Regions from separate parts of the Homo sapiens genome. Here regions 1 and 3 are each linked to region 2. The links are contacts of gene promoters, found by promoter capture Hi-C in human tissues and cell types (Jung and others, 2019). All regions are on one chromosome and are shown on one strand. Each heading gives the region's core, a stretch centred on a gene start or on the middle of the fragment in contact. The rest is flanking DNA. Distances are from core to core; before and after follow the strand shown.

Region 1 (2,700 bases), core at 198-2,697, 690 kb before region 2:
TAGCTGAGAAATACCACTAGCTCTCTGCAGTACCTCAGGATGGAAGGAGACAACATGCACAAAAGTGCTTGGTCAACTGTCAAGCGTTACACCAATGAAAGATGTTCAAATGCACCTCAAATTTCTCAACATTTTCCAAAGCCAACCAAAACCCTTAGCTTCTTTGTAATAGAGACGATGAATTACTAGGTAAGAAATGAGCACCCAGAGATAGAAGTTCAAATAATGTTTTGAAGAATGCAAGGTCATGCCAGAGAAAACAAACTATATTCCTCAAACTAAAATCAATGCTACAAGATGTTGGGTCATCACTGCTTTTATAAGCCCATTAGAAATGTAATTAGACTTGCAAGGCACTGATACTCCCCTCCAAGGTTGTCTAAAGAAGTAAGCAACTCCAGCCATTAGTAAGCACTATTTTAAAAGTACCTGCTGGTAGTTGCACAGTTACCTTAAAAAAAAAAAAAAAAAAAAAAAAAAAAGGCTGAAATCTACCATTGGAGCTATCCAAATTCAACCAACATGGAAGCGCCGGAAGCGAAACCTGATCCTGGCATATAGCTGCGCTGAGTAAAAAATGCCTCCAATTGAGTATGAGAAAAAAGCCTAGAAGGAAATCTAGGTGCACACCGGTGCTTCTCCAACACGTGGGCGCACCTAACTGGATTCCCCACCCCCATCTAACGCCAATAGCACCAACCTCCAAGGCTAACACACACACCCTTAGAAGAATACAGGCACAGGGCCCACACTCTAGAAAGGGAAGAGACAACCTAAAAGGACATAAGTGCGCAACACAGGCGCGTTAAAAAGCTTCCCATCTGGGTTCTAGCGCACGCATTGAAGGCGCGCCCGTCTCTACTACCCTCGTGTCTCCTACCGCGCACGCGCACCGCTGCCTTCCCCCGCCCCTCCACCAACTCGCGCTCGCGTTCCAACTGCTCCCCCCCACCACACTTACTCCCCTACCCCCCACTCCGGTCCGCTACAGCCTCGCGCCTTGGAGACGTAGTCTAATGTGCACTCGTCCGCGCAGCAACCGCCTCCTTCCTTCCTCCACGCCTTCACGCGGGCACGGTGATTCACGTCTACGAAAAGGCCTCGCACCACCCGCACACCTTTCTGCGCCTCCTTCCCCAATTCAAGCCAGAGTCTACCATTACTGCCTATTCCAATCTCGCGCAGAAAGGGTGAAAAGAGTGTGAGGGGGAGGGGAAGGTGTCCTTCCCCTCCCCCCCAAACATCCAGAGGCAGTAACCTAACAGGGCCACGCCGCCAGCCTGCCGCAGCCCTCAATTCAGAAAGGAACCAGTGCCAGCAATTCCCCGACTTCAGGAAATCAGTGGATCACGCTCGGAGGGGGGTTTCAGAGCCCAGTCCTTGGCCGCGCTCGGCTGCTCGCTCACCTGAGGCCGCCATGTTGGGAGAGGGAAAGAGAACGCAAAAGACCCGGATGAGGCAATCACGTGATTATAGCGGGCGCGTCGAGCTAGGAGACGCGAAGCTGGGAGGGGGCGGGGAGGTGAGGACGGAGACAGGAGGCGGGGCGGCGCTGCTCTAGGTTCGTAAAGCTGCGCGGCGAGGTGGCACGCCGTCCGACGGGAAGACATGCGCGACATGTGGCCAAAGGGGCGGGGCCTGGGTTGTCGCGAAACCCCTCACGCTTTACGTAGGGCTACACGCGAGCGCGGGGCTGGAGCTGAGTCCTGGCCGGCCTCCTGACGCACAGACTTCCTGCCGGAAGAGTGGCGGGAAGGGCGGGGCTTCGCTGCTGCTTCTGCTTACTCTGCACGGAGCCGGTGATGGGTGTGGCGAAATGGATGTGCTGAAAGGGAAGATTCTGAGTTTAATGTACTTTTTTGAGACGGAGTTTCGCTCCTGTTGTCCGGGCTGGAGTGCAATGGCGTGCGCGACCTCGGCTCATTGCAACCCCCGCCTCTCGGGTTCAGGCGATTCACCTGCCTCAGCCTCTGGAGTAGCTGGGATTACAGGCGCCCACCACCATTCGCTGCTAGTTTTTTGTATTTTTAGTAGAAACGGGATATTTCACCATATTGGCCATGCTGGTCTTGAACTCCTGGTCTCAGGCTATCCACCCGCCTCGGCCTCCCAAAGTGCTGGATTATAGGCGTGAGCCACCGCGCCCGGCCTAGTTTTTAAAAGCCACATCAGAAATCACTGATTTTATTTTTATTTATTTTTATTTTTTGAGACGGGGTCTCGCCCTGTCTCCCAAGCTGGAGTGCAGTGGCGCGATCTCGGCTCACTGCAGCCTCAACCTCCGGGGCTCAAGCAGTTCTTCCACCTCAGCCTCCTGAGTAGCTGGGACCACAGGCGAGTGCCTCCAGGACCAGCTAATTAAAAAAAAGTCTTTGTGTGGAGACAGAGTGGCGGGCTTGGGGGGGGCGGTGTGTCTCCCTGTGTCGCCTGGGCTGGTCTCGAACTCCTGGACTCAAGCATTCCTCCCTCCGAGGCCTCCCACAGTGCCGGGATTACAGGCATCAACCACTGTTTGTTTTCAAATTACTTTTTGTAAAGGCAAAACAAATCGAACGTCTTGTGTAAGAATGGTTTTAATGAGGCATATTTAGACGGAATAAGAAGGTAACAAATGCTGAACACTTAATTGTCATGGGCTTTTACCTCATTTAATGGTCCAATTTGCTGACTAGGTTTAGTCCAACTTAGGCCTTTAGGATT
Region 2 (2,700 bases), core at 185-2,684:
CTCCTCATCCTCTCCTGACGAAAGCAGTCCAGAGATGTGTGTTTGGAAGGGTTGATGGGCTCAGGTCCTCGGGTTAAGGCAAACCTCCTGGCTCGGTCCGACTGTCCATCCATCAAAGCCATTGCCTGTCCTAACCCAAAGGAACAAGGGCCCAAAGTAAGAGAGCTTGGCTTTAGGAACAGCCACATGAGCTAGCACCCTTCTCTCACCCAGTGTGTTCTCTGAGGTGAGAGAGTGATCTCATTTAAGGACCCTGCTGATGTCCCTCACCTCCCGCACCTTCCCTCCTTCCTGGTGAGTACATACACCCCAAGACCCCATCACTGAGCTTCCCTGCTGGGAACCTAAAGAACACCAATCAGCCTGGACATTGTGAGGGCCTTCCCCCCATCTGTGGCTTCTCATCTTTCCCCCTAGCCAAATGTTGGCTCCCCCACATGCATGCTACCTCCAAACACCCCAGGTCTCTGTAGGATTTCCAGAACCTAGCACAGTGGCTAGTGCATAGTTGGTGGGCACCAAATAAGTATTTCCTGAATAAATGAATAAATGAATAAATGAATAAATGAATACACATAGTCTAGTCTGCAAATCAGAGCCAGACTCTTTTCTGGTCATCTCTCAATCCTGTACTACCCCACCCCAATCCTCCTCAAGCCCAGGTCCCCACTCTCCTCCATGAGTCCCTGGAGCTCTGAGGTATTCCACACTCCCCGCTCCTGATCCCATCAGCAATGACACCTGGAACTCTGAAGCATAGCCCTGGCACTGTCCTGAACTCTCTGAATCAGTTTCTTCCATGTCCCAGATGGTGTCCCTGCACTAGGAATACCCAAAGTGCAAAGAACATGCCCTCCTCCCACCCCAAATCTCTACCCCCACTCCCATCCTTGACCAGGCTCTGAGCAGGAATAGGATAGGAGCGGCCAATCTTGACAATGAGGAAAGGAACCCGCCTTTGAGAAAAAGACAGGAAAGCCTACAGCAAGAGGTTGTCTCAGAGGCAGCCCCCTCCTTGGGACAGGCCAGCCACTCCACCCCAGGGCTTGGCCATGGGTCCAGGGCCCATAGCCTAGCTCTGCCCCTTTCAGAACAGGGTTCAGAGAGCAGGCTTTACCCCAGGTCACTGCACCCATTCCCCTCGCTTGGACCGCAGAATGCAACTAATGCTTTCAGGAACCCCTCTCCCCGCTCCACAGCAGTGCCAGTGGGAGGGGCAGGAGCAAGGAGGAAGCTTATAAAGGGCTTTGAAGATGAAACAGGGCCCGTGGCCAGGGATTGTTGATGCAGCCACACTGAAGAGGCAAGCAGGGTTCTAGCTTAAGAGGCCAGGGTGATGCCAAGCCAATAAAATTCAGCTATTGTCTCTTTGCTCCCTCTTTTAACACCAGCTGCCCCTGGCACATAAAAGGGCCTGCCATCAGCCAGGGAGCACAGGCCCTTGGTTCCATCCTCTGCCATCTACTCCACTGTTCAGACACCTCCTAACCTCCGTCATGACCTGTGGCTTCAACTCCATAGGCTGTGGGTTCCGCCCTGGAAACTTCAGCTGTGTCTCTGCCTGCGGGCCCCGGCCAAGCCGCTGCTGCATCACCGCCGCCCCCTACCGCGGCATCTCCTGCTACCGCGGCCTCACCGGGGGCTTTGGCAGCCACAGCGTGTGCGGGGGCTTCCGCGCCGGCTCCTGCGGACGCAGCTTCGGCTACCGCTCCGGGGGCGTGTGCGGACCCAGCCCCCCATGCATCACCACCGTGTCGGTCAACGAGAGCCTCCTCACGCCCCTCAACCTGGAGATAGACCCCAACGCGCAGTGCGTGAAGCAGGAGGAGAAGGAGCAGATCAAGTCCCTCAACAGCAGATTCGCGGCCTTCATCGACAAGGTGGGTGTCGTCCTGGATCACACCCTTCCTGAACCCCTACTCATGTTCAGAACTCAGGCTGGGCACTGACAGGGAAGTCAAAGGCAAGAACTTGCCCACAGAAGTTCCCAGGCCAAAGGGAAAGGTAGTCATACTTCTAGGACACAGACAGAAAGACAAAAATGGGACCGGGAGCTACCAGACTGATGGGGGAGATTAACTGAAAACACAAAAGCAGAACGAGGGGCAGAGCCTTCCACACTGAGTGATAATATCACCTAGTGAGCAAAGGACCACTGTGTGGGCGCTCAGGGCATTTGAAGCCAAATAACTGCTTAAATGCCAAGGAGATGCTGTCTCCATCAAGGCAGGGCTAATAAGTGTGGTGCTGGAAAACTGTCTGGAAGTGGGTCTCGTGGATGGCACAGAACTCTTTCTATACCACACAGTGATTTGGCCACTGAGCAGGGTCTAGAGTATTTTGTCCAAGCCACTGTTCCTGGGGCTCAGGATCCAGGGGTGAGCAAGAGTCATGGTCCCCATCCTCACAGGCTTTATGGGGAGGCAGGCAGTGCACAGTCTGGGTTTGGTTGAAACCATCTGTGTAGTCAGTGTCCAACTAGAGTTTGCAGCCACCTTCTCCACTGAATCCAGGCAACCACCATGTGGCAGTGATGTGAGAGACTGGGAGAAAAGGCTCTGACTAGGAACATGTTCTGGGGTTGGAAAGAGCCCTCCAGAGCCAAAACCTCAAGAGAGGAGTCACACTAGAGAGATGCCCACCAGAAAGGATCGGGAAAAAAAAATGTGGAATTTCTAATAGCATGAGAGACCAAGGATA
Region 3 (2,700 bases), core at 123-2,622, 510 kb before region 2:
CTTCACTTGCTGGGCTGTGGGGAACATGGGAGGGAGGCCAAGCCTTCTCCGTGGCAGTCCCATGTCCTCTCTGTTGGGATCCTGGGGACACAGCCTGGCTGGTTGTCCTGCTCATCTGATGGGGGTGGGGAGCACAGCGATGCTGTCCTCGCTCCTTTTTTTCAGGCAAGTCTCTGTTCACTTTGAGCCCATCTTCTTGCTGAGAGAAGGGGGTGGGGAGGGCCAGTGTCTAAAGTCACCTCCTCAGTCACCCCTCGGCCCTGACAGTTGACGTCTCTGTCTTTGCTTGGGGCTGTGTTTGGTCCCAGCAGACTGAGGTGAATAGGAAGTGGGCGGCGGGGACCATATGAGGTGATTTAAGGAGCTCCCCTGGCCCCTCTGAATCAGAAACATGGGCTCCTGCATGTGGGGCAGGGGAAGATGGGAGTGACGGGGCTGCTGCGTGGGCCTCCTGGGGCTTTTTTGGAACACCTGCTTTTTGGAGCTGTGCCTGTCTCCACCCAGGGTGGTCTGTGTCCTTGACCCACCTCCAGCTCCCTCCAAAGTGGCTGAACCTTTCTGTGGGGACTCTGCTGTGGGGTAGAGGCTCAGGGATCTCAGGTATTGGTTAAATCCCCTGCCCTCTCTTCAGCCTCCATAAGAATGTCCTTTGCTCCCAGGCTTCTGGGCCCTGCCTGAGGACCCCAGGCCTTTTCTACCTCCTGATCAAGGGCCTGGGCCCCACGATTGGGCAGGGATCCTCTTTCTGTCCTTGAATTCACTTTGCCAGCATAGGCTCACTTCCCAGAAGGCTCTGCCACTGTACGGCAGAGGCACAGGCTATCCCCACTCTCGCCCTGTCACCTGTGTCACACACCCTGGACCTGGGAGGAGTGGTGGGCCGTTGGCTGGGGGTGGGATGGGAGCAGGCCTGGATGCTCTCTCTGGCAGCCCATTGCCCAATGCTCCTTCTCCTACCACCTGTACAGCCCCAGGCCCTGCAGCCTTGGCTTACAACAGGGGCCTGGGACAAACCCCGTAGAACAGAGCCCTATTGACAGTGGCCTCTGGGGCTGGGTGGGAGGACAGCAAGCCAGCCACTGGGTGGTGGGGGTGGCCATGGGAGCCCGTATCATCCTGTGCCAACCGAGGAGAGCCTGGGGGCAGGGGGAGAAGGTGGCATCCTGCCCCAGACAGTCTCGGCTCAGCCCCAGCTCTGGAGCACAGGTGATAACCGGGAGGGCCCCTCCCTCCTGCTTGGGGAGAGGGCACTCCCCGTGGCCCTAAGGACCCCTCCCTCTCCCCTTGGGGCGATGGGGCAGGAGTGTCTGTGGAGCTGGGGAGCCGGCCCAGTTGGGAAAAGATAAAAAGCCCACAGTGGCCCAGCAGCTCACGGCACTCCCTTCCTGCCCTCTCATCCTGCCCTCCGGCCCCTCTGCAGCTATGAGGTCCTCCGTCTCTCGGCAAACATACTCCACAAAAGGGGGCTTCAGCTCCAACTCTGCCAGCGGAGGGAGTGGGTCCCAGGCCCGCACCAGCTTCAGCTCAGTGACGGTGTCTCGGAGCAGTGGCAGTGGTGGCGGGGCCCACTGTGGCCCCGGCACAGGTGGCTTTGGCAGCCGAAGCCTCTATAACTTGGGGGGCCACAAGAGTATCTCTGTCAGTGTGGCCGGAGGGGCCTTGTTGGGGCGGGCTCTGGGGGGCTTTGGCTTTGGCAGCAGGGCATTTATGGGACAGGGGGCTGGCAGGCAGACGTTTGGGCCTGCTTGTCCTCCTGGGGGGATCCAGGAGGTCACTGTCAACCAGAGCCTGCTGACCCCCCTCCATGTGGAGATTGACCCCGAGATCCAGCGAGTGCGCACTCAGGAGCGGGAGCAGATCAAGACCCTCAACAACAAGTTCGCCTCCTTCATCGACAAGGTGGGCCAAGCAGGAAGGAGGAAGGGAGCTCTTGGGGAAGAAGCGGGACCTCTAATAGAGGGTGGGCTGGGCCAGGGCTGCTGTAGCCCACTTGTACTAGGGTGGTGGTTGATAGAGCTCTGGAGCTCTCCCGGTCTGAGCCTGGGATGCCGAGACGTGGGTGGCTGGAGGCGGCCTTCAGGTCTTCACCGTGCCTGTGCGGGGGGAGTCTCCAGTCTACTCATGAGTCCGGTTTGCCAAGTCCACCTTGCCCGTGTTGAAGCCTGTCCTACCACCATGATTAATACGATTGATTGCACAGTAGCCTTACCTCATCATCAAAAAATGGATTGTCCTCATAGCTCCTCTTAGTGGGGTGGCCTGCATTGCCTTTTGTCATTTTACAGCTGGGGAAACAATGCTCAGGAGTTGAAAGAGTTGTTCAAGGCTAAGAGCATGGAGCCCTGTTTGTTCCATTCTTTCAGGCTTGGAGGAGGCTTAAGGGCAAGATGTGATCAAAACACAGTTGTGTGTGGGTGGGGTCCTAGGGGTAGGCTCCCTTCCGCTTCTCCTTTTTTTACACTCTGAGTGAAGAAGCTCAATTTGGGGTGGACAATGAGGAGGGTGGTCACCAGGTCACCAAGCTCTGGGAATGTGGAATTTGACCTGTTGCCCATAGGCATGCCCTGAACCTTGCCCTTGCCTCCAGATGGATGGGAGCAACACTTGTGCTGGGATTTCCTGGTCTGTTTCGCTGGCATTGTCCACCTCGATCCTGAGCCAAGGCAGCGGGTCATGATGGGGAAGGTCTGGCAGACAAAT

Evidence for each region. Contacts are between HindIII fragments. The study calls those that stand out against the background at their distance.
Region 1: a contact is called between the fragment with the promoter of EIF4B here and the fragment with the promoter of KRT83 in region 2, in 5 of the 25 tissues and cell types used here (H1 embryonic stem cells, IMR-90 fibroblasts, heart right ventricle and 2 more).
Region 3: a contact is called between the fragment with the promoter of KRT79 here and the fragment with the promoter of KRT83 in region 2, in 7 of the 25 tissues and cell types used here (bladder, heart left ventricle, heart right ventricle and 4 more).

The regions. Positions count from the first base shown.
Region 1 is chr12:53,005,203-53,007,902 of GRCh38, reverse strand. It overlaps EIF4B (eukaryotic translation initiation factor 4B), which reads right to left and starts at 1,447. Exons shown (of 15, transcript NM_001417.7): 1 at 1,407-1,447. The coding sequence starts at 1,419. RefSeq lists enhancers at 589-1,332, 1,333-2,076. The HindIII fragment of the contact is 23,564 bases long and covers 1-2,700 here.
Region 2 is chr12:52,320,132-52,322,831 of GRCh38, reverse strand. It overlaps KRT83 (keratin 83), which reads left to right and starts at 1,434. Exons shown (of 9, transcript NM_002282.3): 1 at 1,434-1,880. The coding sequence starts at 1,497. The HindIII fragment of the contact is 13,306 bases long and covers 1-2,700 here.
Region 3 is chr12:52,832,983-52,835,682 of GRCh38, reverse strand. KRT79 (keratin 79) reads left to right here and starts at 1,372. Exons shown (of 9, transcript NM_175834.3): 1 at 1,372-1,899. The coding sequence starts at 1,423. The HindIII fragment of the contact is 20,589 bases long and covers 1-2,700 here.